2 separate regions of the Homo sapiens genome follow, and region 1 is linked to region 2. Evidence: promoter capture Hi-C in human tissues and cell types (Jung and others, 2019). All regions are on one chromosome and are shown on one strand. Each heading gives the region's core, a stretch centred on a gene start or on the middle of the fragment in contact. The rest is flanking DNA. Distances are from core to core; before and after follow the strand shown.

Region 1 (6,545 bases), core at 2,834-5,333, 1.5 Mb after region 2:
AGAACAAAAAATAAAATAAATAAATGCATACTCTTTTTTGCTTATTTTTAAATGCATATTCTTGAAACAATGGAAAGTTTCTCTTCAAAAGCAAACTTCCATCGCAGTATTAAGTCAATGTAAACTTCAACCCAGTGCAATTTTGAGTAGTCTAATTCAAAATTTGTCCAAAAGTCCACCTCTGGTTTTAAATCTGCTAAGAAAGAATCTATTACAGAATGAAAGGCACTCTATTTAGATTTCATATATTGATTAGAATTATTGCTTGGAAAAATTAACAACCAGCTCTTCTCAAAAGACACCATTAGATCTAATATCCAAGCCTCCTTTGAACTCAGTTTTTATATTCTTCTAATGCAGTGGTCCTCAACTAGGGGAGATTCTGCCTCCCAAGGGCACATGTAGTAATGATGGAAGACATTTTTGGTTGTCACAACTCGGGAAGATGGAATGCTACTGATATCTCACAGATAGAGTAAAAGGATGTTGTCAAACATCCTACAATGCACACGACAGTCTCCTCACAACAAATTATTTGGCCCAAAATGTCAACAGTGTGTGAAGACTGAGAAACCTAAGTTTAATCATAACCCCAACTGTCACATATCTTTTTTTTTTTTTTGAGACAGAGTCTTGCTCTGTCACCCAGGCTGGAGCGCAGTGGCGTGATCTTGGCTCACTGCAAGCTCCGCCTCCCAGGTTCATGCCATTCTTCGGCCTCAGCCTCCCAAGTAACTGGGACTACAGGCGCCTGCCACCACGCCTGGCTAATTTTTTTTTTGTATTTTTTAGTAGAGATGGGGTTTCACTGTGTTAGCCAGGATGGTCTCGATCTCCTGACCTCGTGATCCGCCCACCTCAGCCTCCCAAAGTGCTGGGATTACAGGCGTGAGCCACCGCACCCGGCCATCAATGCTTCTTTTACGGCATATGATACACCTTTAACCCGCATTATACCATTACGCATTGGCCAGACACTCTGACCTAAAGTTTTTTAGAACTCTTATCTTTTTTTACGCCTGGTCTCCTTTCGTCCCTCTCTTAGGCTTGATCTGTAAAACTCTTCTGACTCAAAATTTTAGAGCTTTTCTGATACCATAATGCTCATTAAATCTGTAAAAATTAAAAATAACGCCAAGTGTGGTGGCTCACGCCTGTAATCTCAGCACTTTGGGAGGCTGAGGCGGGCGGATCACCTGAGGTCAGGAGTTCAAGACCAGCCTGGTCAACATGGTGAAACCCCGTCTCTACTAAAAACACAAAAATTAGCTGGGCGTGGTAGCGGGCGCCTGTAATCCCAGCAACTTTGGAGGCTGAGGCAGGAGAATTGCTTGAACCTGGGAGGCGGAGGTTGCAGTGAGCCAAGATCACGCCAATGCACTCCAGCCTGGGCAACAGAGCGAGACTCCCTCTCAAAAATAAATAAATAAATAAATAACTTTAAAAAAACCCCATATCGTTATTACTTACTATTTTAACAAGAATGTAAGTAGCAAATTTGTTTTTTTTTTTGAGACACAGTCTTACTTTGTCACCCAGGCTGGAGTGCAGTGGTGCAATCTCAACTCACTGCAACCTCTGCCTCCCAGGTTCAAGCAATTCCTGTGCCTCAGCCTCCCAAAGCAGCTGGAATTACAGGTGTGTGCCACTACACCTGGCTAATTTTTGTATTTTTAGTAGAAAAGGGGTTTTGCCATGTTGGCCAGGCTGTTCTCAAACTCCTGACCTCAAGTGATCTGCCCGCTTCAGCCACCCAAAGTGCTGGGATTACAGGTGTGAGCCACCATGCCCAGCCTTAAGTAGCAAATCTAAATTTTTATTCCGTACTTTCCTGGACACTGGGAGATATAAATATCCAAAATGTGCAACATCCTTTAAAATGCAACCAAGTACTCATCAAATGTCATGCATGAACTTGGAACACAGCCATTCTATAAATTTTTTGTTTCTTTTAAGAAACAAGGGGTCGGGCGCGGTGGCTCATGCCTGTAATCCCAGCACTTTGGAAGGCCAAGGCAGGCGGATTACGAGGTCAGGAGATCGAGACCATCCTGGCTAACAAGGTGAAGCCCCGTCTTTACCAAAAATACAAAAAATTAGCCAGGCGTGGTGGCAGGCGCCTGTAGTCCCAGCTGCTCGGGAGGCTGAGGCAGGAGAATGGCGTGAACCTGGAAGGCAGAGCTTGCAGTGAGCTGAGATCGCGCCACTGCACTCCAGCCTGGGTGACAGAGCGAAGACTCTGTCTCAAAAAAAAAAAAAAAAAAAAGAACAAGAAAAAGAAACAGGGTTGGCCAGGTGCAGTGGCTCACGCCTGTAATCTCAGTACTTTGGGAGGCCAAGTCGGGTAGATCACGTGAGGTGAGGAGCTCAAGACCAGCCTAGCCAACATGGTGAAACCCCATCTCTACTAAAAATACAAAAAAATTAGCCGGGCATGGTGGCGTGTGCCTATAATCCCAGCTACTCAGGAAGCTGAGTCAGTAGAATTGCTTGAACTTGGGAGGTGGAGGTTGACCGAGATCTCGCCACTACACTCCAGCGTGGGCAACAGAGCCAGACTCCGTCTCAAAAAAACAAAAAACAAAATAAAAAAAAAACAGGGTCTTGCTCTATTGCCCAGGCTAGAGTACAGTGGCATGATCATAGCTCATTACAGACTGCTGGGCTCAAACAATCCTCCCACCTCAGCTTCCTAAGTAGCTGGGACTACAGAGTGGCTAATAAGAAAAAAATTTTTTTTAGAGACAGGGTCTCCCTACATTGCACAGGCCGGTCTTGAACTCCTGGCCACAAGCGATCCTCCTGCCTCAGCCTCCCGAGTAGCTGGTGTATACCACTACACTTGGCTTCCACTCTGTAAACAGGTACACACCACCACGCTTGGCTTCCATTTTGTAAATTTTGATTCCAGGTTTCAGGTACAGCTCTAGTAAGGTTCTAGCTTATCACCTCTGGGTCTTTTTTTCCCTTTCTGCCCATCAAATGAAATACTTTGAAAACTCACTTCATAATTTTGTTGGAGAGAACAGTCATCTTCTTTGCTCCATAATCATAAGCATTCTCATTTTTAGACTAATAAATGTCAATCAGAATGAACAATCCAGGCTGAGCGTGTGGCTCTTGCCTCTAATCCCAGCACTCTCAGAGGCCGAGGCGGGTGGATCACGAGGTCAGGAGATTGAGACCATCCTGGCTAAAACGGTGAAACCCCATCTGTACCAAAACTACAAAAAATTAGCTGGGTGCAGTGGCACGCACCCGTAGTCCCAGCTACTCGGGAGGCTGAGGCAGGAGAATCGCTTGAACCCAGGAGGCAGAGGTTGCAGTGAGCAAAGACCATGCCACTGCACTCCAGCCTGGGTAACAAGAGTGAGACTCTGTCTCAAAAAAAAAAAAAAAAAAAAAAAAAAAAAAAAACTGATTTTTTTTTTCATTTTTACATAATTTTTCCTTCTAACCATCTTTATACATATACGTAACTTTGGCACCTGTCCACTTACAAACTGCATCAACTAAGTTTTGGTGTACAAATATCTTGAAAGATGAAAGAATACTATCATACATCTTTTTGGCAAAGTGCAGTGGTTTTGATTGTTTTTTTTTTTCATTTCTTAAAAATAGAAATGGGGTCTCACTATGTTGCCCAGGCTGGTCTCGAACGTCTGGGCTCAAGCGATCCTCCCACCTCAGCCTCCCAAGAAGGTGGGATTGCAGGCATATGCCACTGCACCCAGCCCAGTTCTGATTCTTATAAAAAGAAAATCACATTCTAGCTGGATGCCTATAGTGCCAGTTACTTGGGGGAACTGAAGCAGGAGAACAGCTTGAGCTCAGGAATTTAAATCCAGCCTGGGCAACATAGTGAGATAGATCCCATCTTTAAAAAAAAAAAAAAAAAAAAAAAAATTCACCGCTGGGCATGGTGGCTCACGACTGTAATCCCAGCACTTTGGGAGGCCAAGGCAGGTGGATCACCTGAGGTTGGGAGTTCAAGACCAGCCTGACCAACATGGAGAAACCCCATCTTTTACTAAAAATACAAAAAATTAGCCAGGCATGGTGGTACATGCCTGTAATCCCAGCTACTTGGGAGGCTAAGGCAGGAGAATCCCTTGAACCCAGGAGGCGGAGGTTGCGGTGAGCCGAGATTGTGCCATGGCACTCTAGCCTGGGCAATAAGAGCAAAACTCTGTCTCAAAAAAAAAAAAAAAAAAAAAATCACATTCTAAACTCATCTAGGGTACAGTCACATATGTATATGGGTGGAGACAGAATCTTGCTATGTTGCCCAGCCTGGTTTTGAAGTACTGGGCTCAAGTGATCCTCCCATCTCAGCCTCCCGAGATGCTAGGATTACAGGTGCACGCCACCATGCCTGGCTGAAGACTCTTATTTTACAACTTGGTTTATATAACTTTACCGTCATCCTAACAGTCTAGAGTACTACTGTCACACAGCATTCATCTACTAGTTCCTCTGAAATGTCTTCTGTAGTCAGTTTTCTTCTCTTTGCCATTATAGGAGGAAGATGAAAAACTATGGATTTTTAAATATGTCCAATGAAAGCTTAAAAGTTGAAAAATAGTATAAAAATTACCATGTACTCCTTCACCTAGATTCTCCAAATGTTAACATCTTACATAATGTTTAAGATGGTATCTCCCAACTTCTTTTATACTTTCTTGAAAGATGCTGTAGGCTGGGCATGCTGGCTCATGCCTGGAATCCCAGCACTTTGGGAGGCTAAGGTGGGTGGATTGTTTGAGCCCAGGAGTTCGAGACTAGCCTAGACAACATGGCGAAACGTTCTCTCTACAAAAAAAATACAAAAATTAGCCAGGTGTGGTGGCACATGCCTGTAGTCCCAGCTACTTGGAGGGCTGAGGTGAGATTGCTTGAGTCTGGGAGGCGAAGGTTGCAGTGAACTGAGATTGCGCCACTGCACTCCAGCCTGGGTGACAGAGTGAGACCCTGTATCCAAAAAGAAAAAAAAAGTTGCTGTAAGTTTTGGGAAAAGCAATAAGAAAACTGAAGGGCTGCGGTGCACACCTATAGTCCCAGCTACCGAGGATGCTTAGGAGGGATGATCACTTGAGCCCAGAAGTTTGAGGCTGCAGAGAGCTATGATCATACCACTGCCCTTCGGCCTGGGCAACAAAGCGAGGCCCCATCTCTAAAAACTGAAGTGTAAAACTAATGATTTATTTCACTACTGCATATCCTTTTAAGCAATTCTATAATTCTCCCTTTGTCATATTATTTTAGTCCTCTTTAGCATATTTGAGAATTGATGAGTAATGATGAAATAATTCCTAGGATGATGAAATACCAAAACATTTCAATATACAGGAAAAATAAGATCAGTAAAACTCCACAACATTGTTTCGATGTACAAGTGGTAATAGCTAAAATGAGTTTATTCCTTTGGAAAAAAAATAAATTTTCAGGCTGGGCATGGTGACTCATGCCTGTAATCGCAGCACTTCGAGAGATAAGAAGTTTGAGGCCAGCCTGGCCAATATGGTGAAACCCCATTTCTACTAAAAATACAAAAATTAGCTGGGTATGGTGGTACACACCTGTAATCCCAGCTACTCGGGAGGTTGAGGCAGGAGAACCAGTTGAACCCAGGAGGCGGAGGTTGCAGTGAGCCAAGATCGCGCTACTGCACTCCAGCCTGGGGATGGAACAAGACCGCATCTCAAAAATAAAATTAAAAATAAAAATAAATTTTCTCTTTGCTGTTTTGAAGACCTCCAATAAATAAAAGTCATGAAATATACATCTTTACAAGTAGTTAGTACTGCTTTAAAAAAAAAAAGCAAAACTCAAAAACTAAAATTGAGTCCAGACCAGGTGCAGTGGCTCAGGCCTGTAATCCCAGCACTTTGGGAGGCCGAGGTGGGCAGACTGCTTGAGCCCAGGAGTTTGAGACCAATCTGGGCAATACAGACTTCGGTGACACTGATGTTACCCAGACATTTCTTACTACTGTAGGTAGAAAATGAACAGAAATTTAGTTAAATTCAAAATGTATTAATAATTGTTATCAATGTTGATTTTCTGATTTGATCACTGTATTGTGGTTTTAAAAGATGCACTTGGGGAATCTAGGTGAAGATTATAGGGCTATTATTTGTATTATTTTTGCAACTCTCTTTGAAGTCTAAAATTATTTCCAAAGAAAAAGTTTTTTAAAAATTAAGTATTAGGCCAGGCATGGTGGCTAACACCTGTAATCTCAGCACTTTGGGTGTCTGAGGCAGGTGGATTGCTTGAGTCCAGGAAGACCAGCCTGAGCAACATGGTAAGACCCTATCTCTATTTAATATAAGAAATATAATCTTTCAAAATATCTATAAGGCCAGGTGCAGTGGCTCATGCCTGTAATCCCAGCACTTCGGGAGGCCAAGGCAGGTGGATTGCCTGAGGCCAGGAGTTCAAGACAAGGCTGGTCAACGTGGTAAAACCCTGTCTCTACTAAAAATACAAAAAATTAGCCAGGCATGGTGGTGGCGCCTGTGATCCCAGCTACTCAGGAGGCT
Region 2 (5,895 bases), core at 2,963-5,462:
AACTCCAATATACACATGGAGAAGAGGCAGGAAAAAGATCCAAATGTCCTCATGTTCCTTTGTTCTGTTCCAAACAAGGAAACAAAAATCACAAGCATGCACACGCTGCATGGTGAGCCTGGAATTCCCCAGCAGGTGACTGGGCTGGGAGGGTCCCTGCTCCATCACCCATCTGCCTGCCCCATGAGTCAGGCCCGGAATGAGAGCTGTAGAAGCCAGTGTCATCATGGCAGAGCAGTGAGGGGTAAAAACTAAGGGGCAGACCCCAAGAATGTCTGCCGGGGCCACTTCCTCTTCTCAGGGACAAGTTTGCCCAGGATCGTTATGGTCTACGCCCACCTGCCATTCCTCAACTCATGGCCCCACCCAGGCACTGGCTCTTCAAAGGTGGTTACACTATTGGGACATATGGTAAACTGAGGCCCAGAGTGGTCTGACTCTTTTCTCAAAGTGACCTGGCAGGTGGAGCCAGGCCGGTGCCACCCCTCAAGCTCCGTCTTGTGAGGGGCTGCCTACCAGAAGCTGGTCGCTGATCTTGAGCTTCTCCATCTGGATCTCCCGCAGCGGCCTCTTGAGCAGGGCCTTGGTCATGGCGTTCTGGGCTGTCATGCGTGTGGCTGTGTTCAGGTCTTTCACAGTCATCACCGACAGCACCGGGTCCCAGATGCGAAACTGGACATCGGCTCCCACGGACAGCACAGCCCCGTCCTTAGAGGCCAGCTGTTGGGGGAGGCCATGAGAGAGAGACACTCAAGGGGCTGGGGGTGCAGGGAGGTCAGGCCCACTGGGGCCACCCAGCTTGAACCACCTGCTTGGCAGCTAGCTCCTCAAGGGCAAATGGTGTCACCAAGTATGTAGGGTTAGGTGTATGAAGCAAGGATGTCCTCCTAGCTTCCATCAATTTTCTGGTCTCTTCTTCCCCCTTCCCCCCTCAGATGGTGACTCACAGGCTGAGGTCCTGGCACCACAGTACATTCTGGACAGGCCCCCAGTTCCTCTGTCAAGGCAGCTGAGAAGCCCCTCACCTTGCAGGGAGGGACGTTGAAGGCTCGTGTCCTCAGATCCACCCTCTGAAAGGAGTCAATGAAGGGCAAGAGCAGAACCATGCCAGGTCCCTGGGGGGTGCGGATCCGGCCCAGGCGGAACACAATCATCCGCTCGTAGGTGGGCACAATCTGTCCACAATGGCAAGGGAAAGAGTTGAAAGTGGTCAGCCTAGGCTGGCCAATGCTGTCTGCCTAGGTCCCTTCCTCACTTCTCTCCTCCTCACCTGGGTCACAGTTAGGTATCCCTAGCACTGTTTCCAGATGAGAAAACCAAGGCTCAGGGAAGCTAAGTGACTGCTCAAAAATTGCATAGCCCTAAGTGAAATAGTGAAGATTTGAATGCAGTTCTGAATAACTCCAAAGGCCATGTGTCTTAACTACTGCACTGTATTGACTTGATCCTTAGAGAAACTTTTCATCTCTGTGGTCTGAAGTTAGACATGACTCATACCAGGAAACTGTCTGTCCTTGGATTAGTTAGGAGAAAAGGCTCGGCTGCCCTAACAGCACCCCCGGGGAAAGGGCTTTGTCAACTTTAGGTCCCTGGACCTCCTAGAGAAGTAGTGATGTCCAAATTGAGAAATGAAGGCCCAGAGAGGCAAAGAAACCTGTTCAAGGTCACATGGCATTTGTTTCTGTGGCAGTTTTAGAACTAGGATATAAGGCCATTTAAGGACCCCCTTGCAGACCACACCAAACCCAGAGGTTTTCTAGAGAGGGACTGTTGCCTAGGGCTACACAAAGGGCAAGGCCTCCTTGGGCTTCCACCTTCCCCCAGCTTTCACGTGCGATGCTGAACTATAGCTCCATGGTTCATCCTTTTCCCACTGTACCACCCCTTATGGAAAATGAGGCCTGAATTCCTATTATGCACTACCAGCTGGGCTAAGTTGGGTGTTTTCATTTCTAATTTATTCTAACCCAAAGAGAAGATAATTTGGCAAAGACATCTGCGTGTACCTTAAAGCCAGTGTCCAGATCCCAGGACTTAGGAGTTTGGGACTTGCTTCTACCCCCTACTGGCTCCCAGTATGACTTTAGACAAGCCCAAGCCTTAGTTTCCTCCCCTGACCAATGTGAATGAATGGTTCTTGCCTAGCCCATTACACAAAGGGGTAATAATATTTAGGGAAAGGGGACAGAGGATAGGCAAATTTATTCATCAATGCCAAAGCTCTCAGTGTGGCCCAACCACCCTGGGGGCTGACCCAGCCAGCCTTACCTTCAGGGCAAACCAGCCAGAAATGGGGAAGGTGACCAACAGCAGCAAGAACCCCAGGAAACTGATGAGGCCATGACAGAGGCAGGAGGGCCAGCTCTGGGGTACATCTGCAGGTGAGAGCAGAGGTGGTCAACTGGACCTGCACGACAGCTGCCAAGCGGAGTGAACTTGGGCAAGTGTACCTTACGCCCACCTTCCCCTCGAGAGGCTCCTTCCTTCTCAGGGCTCTCAATCTGGCTCCTTGCCTAATATTCCCGTATCTTTGGGCAGCTGCAAGTTAGGGTCTGTTCCCTCCTCCCATACATCAACACTCATTTGTCCCAAGTCCAACAACCCTCACAAGGCCTTATTCTCTGCTAGGCAACAGCCATTCAATCTCAGAATCCAGTCCGCGTGATGATGCTCTCCTCACTGGACTGAGTAGGGGTCAATCCTCTCGTTTAATTTATATTGCCTACCCATACCTGGCATGGAGCCAGGAGCACCTGGGCATCTGTAAACATGCACTGAATACTGCTGGCAAAACACATTCCTCCTATACCATCAGCCCCAGAAGTGTGCTTTCCAGGAGTCCTTATGAAGATGATGCCTTAGCCTACAGGGATAAATCATAAATAGCTTATCAACGGGAGCCACAGATGAGGAATTAGATTATTATTTTCTATTCCACACCCAACTTTAATGCCTTAATGACCATTAAAAAATGCCTATTTCACGAGATGGCGCCACTGCACTCCAGCCTGGGGGACAGAGCGAGACTCCATCTCAAAAAAACAACAAACAACAAAAAACAAAAACAAAAAAAAACCCTGCCTATTTCAATTCAAGAAAATTGTTAGGGGTCGGGGTCAGGGGCAGGGCTAGAAAGATGAGGCTTATCCAAGCCAAATGTCCTGGCCCCTGGAGATTCAGGAGCCCAAGTTGGGAGCAAAGCCGAGACAGCTCCAGAATCTGGGATGAGGTTATTTGCCGCTTTCCTCCCAACCCTGGACAGGAAGCAGTCGGGAGCCCTGCTCCATTCTTCCAGGAAGCCCTGCCCTCTGGGCTAAGCCCCAGAGCACTGAGGCTCCACTTTGTGCCTGGCTCTGATCCACCAGGCCTCTCAAGAGACTTCTGGATAGGGAGAGCTTTCAGGACAGGAAGGCCAGGGAGGGATCAAATCCAAGGTTAGGCGGTTAGGCTGAACAGCGTGGGATCTGGCCTGTAGGCCAAAGGAGCCACAGAAGACTTTGAGGGCAAGACAGAAGCAGGGCAGATCCAACAGGCAGCTGAGGACCTGTCATTTTGGCCTGCACATCCAGGAGATGCCTAGTTCCCGGGCTTCTAGAGGTGCCCCCTAGGGCGAAAATTCTTCCATTTCCCTGCAGCAGGTGCCTTTAGGGTGCTGGTGGCCTCCTCTGCCTAGACCTCGGTTTCTTCTATGCGAAATAGAAACCTGAAACGTCTTCCCAGGCCTAAAGGGCTGATAAGAGCCGAGGACAAATGTGGTGAGGTGAGGTTTTGGAAGATAGGAGCAACGCTGGCTGGCTCTGGGGCCAAAGCCCCATGACCCTAGGGAGGGCGGATCGGCGCTAGCACCAGGCGCCGGGTCCAGCCCCCTCTCCACATCGTATCCCTTTCTCAGTCCCCCCTCGTAGGGTGCGACGGCACCGGGCCGGCCGACTCCTCGGAGGCAGAGATTCGGGCCTGGGGGTTGCCGGCCGGTCCCCCCCGGCTCCGCCGTGCCAGGCGGCCACTCACCGGCCCCTGTCCCCACGCCGCCCCGCTCCGGGGACAAGCAGCCCTTCTGCGAGCCCAGAAAGCCGAAGCTCGACTGCTGGAAGCGGTCAAAATCACCCAGGGGCAGCGCCCGGTACCCAGACCTGCCGAGCATGGCTTTTGACAGGAGACACGCCCCGCGCCTCCGCGCGGCGCCCTCCCTGGCCAGTGGGCCCTACGCGGCCCCGCCCTCCTGGCTGCTGCTTCCGGCTTCACCCGCGCGGCCACCCGCGGCGGCGCGGGCGCAGGAAGAGGAGGCCGGCCGGGGCCCGCTTCCGCCGTCGCATGGCTCCCCCTGCGCTGGGAGGACCGAACTGCAGCCCAGGGCTACTGGGTGTGATCGGCGTTCCTCGGACCCCGCTGGGGTCATCGCCTCCTCCCCTCTTCTCCTACTCAGCCCTAGAAAAGCTGGAGGGGAAGCTGGGCACGGTGGCTCACTCCTATAATCCATCAATTTGGGAGACTCAGGCAGGAGGATCGCTTGAGGCCAGGAATTCAGGACCATCCTGAGCAACATAGTGAGAGCCCATCTCTACAAAAAATTTTTAAAAATTAGCCTGGCGTGGGATGCCTGCCTGTGGTCCCAGCCACTTGGGAGGCTGAGGCGGGAGGATCTCTTGAGTCCAGGAGTTTGAGGCTGCAGTGAGCTATGATCGTGCCACTGCACTGCAGTCGGAGCGAGAGAGCAAGATCTCATCAGGGTTTACAGGAAGCCAATCTTCTCCAGGATCAAGGACATGCTATATCAGCCTTCTCAGCACTCCTTCTCTCACACTGGAGGCAGGACATGCCATATCTGGACTTTGGGTTTCTCTGGGACATAGTCTGCAAATTATTCCTCTTTGTGAACCCACAGCCCAGCAAGCAGGGACTGGCATAGGGCAGGTCTCAATACTTATTTGTTAAGTAATGGCCTGGCCAGGTCACCGTGATCAAGGTGGAGTAGGAAGGCCTGAACTTTGGCACAAAAAGAAAGAAGTTTCACATGCAGACTTCGGGGAGCATGGGAGTGTAAGGAAGAAGGGGATAGCACAGAGCTACATGAGGGCAGGGGCCCCAGAGCACCACAGAGGTGAGGCCCTCAGTCCTGCAGGTCCAGAAAGAGCATGCCCCTTGATCCAGGTACCTGGAATTAACTTGCCTCTCCAGGGCTTGAGAAAACCTGAATGCAACTCGTGAATTTCCTTTGAGAAGTGTTAACTTCCAACAGGACTTTGGGGTAGTCTGGGAGCAGGCTATCTTCCAAAGCAAGCAAAGAAATGAATAAAGCTTCCCCAGCTCTGCCTCCTCAGCCAATCGCCTCTGGCCTCCGAAGCCCCATCCTGCCATAGCCCACTTCCAGGTCCCTTGTGCAGATGGCTGCCCACCATATTTGGCTTTCATGGACTGATTCTCTAAAGGCCTGGGAGTACTGACCAGGCTGGAGGGAAGGGCAGGCTCCTGAGGCCTTACAGTCCCTAGGAAGTTGCGTATCTGCCCAACCCCTGCTCTCCACCCTGCAGACTGTAAGGTTTACAAGAGCCAGGCCCTATCATCATCCTTTCTAGTCTGTTTCTAAGTTGGAACAGAGTACGGAATGGGTACACAGGAGCCAGCACAGTGGTTGCGATGGTTTAAGTTTGAAGCCGGGGCGCTGACCCAGTGAGGTCACCTGGAACTGTGCCCCTTTCCCCTTACCAGCTGGGAGTCTGACATGCTTTTCCATTGGCGAAGACCTAGCTGGCTCTCCCCTCACCCTCTTCATACCCGCTCTCCAGCTCTCCCCCTCCCTCCTGCCCCCACCACCTCAGATCCACCAGCCTTTCCAGCTGTCACTCAAGGCATCATCCTGCTCCCTCACCTCCAGTCACTGGCTTCCCAGGATCTCTG

Evidence for each region. The method cuts DNA at HindIII sites, captures the fragments that hold promoters and counts their contacts. A contact is called where the count stands out against the background at its distance.
Region 1: a fragment that was not itself captured here is called in contact with the fragment with the promoter of STOML1 in region 2 in 1 of the 25 tissues and cell types used here (spleen).

The regions. Positions count from the first base shown.
Region 1 is chr15:75,438,737-75,445,281 of GRCh38, forward strand. All of the region lies in intron 1 of SIN3A (SIN3 transcription regulator family member A), which reads right to left. Among named protein-coding and RNA genes, the nearest start is that of SIN3A, 9.7 kb to the right of the region's middle. RefSeq lists a silencer at 2,267-2,416. The HindIII fragment of the contact is 9,103 bases long and covers 1-6,545 here.
Region 2 is chr15:73,988,083-73,993,977 of GRCh38, forward strand. It overlaps STOML1 (stomatin like 1), which reads right to left and starts at 4,213. Exons shown (of 7, transcript NM_004809.5): 1 at 4,009-4,213; 2 at 2,269-2,375; 3 at 1,026-1,175; 4 at 517-720. The coding sequence starts at 4,141. RefSeq lists enhancers at 1-1,080, 1-123, 134-193, 3,490-3,619, 3,680-3,749 and 1 more and a silencer at 3,880-4,439. The HindIII fragment of the contact is 7,353 bases long and covers 1,794-5,895 here.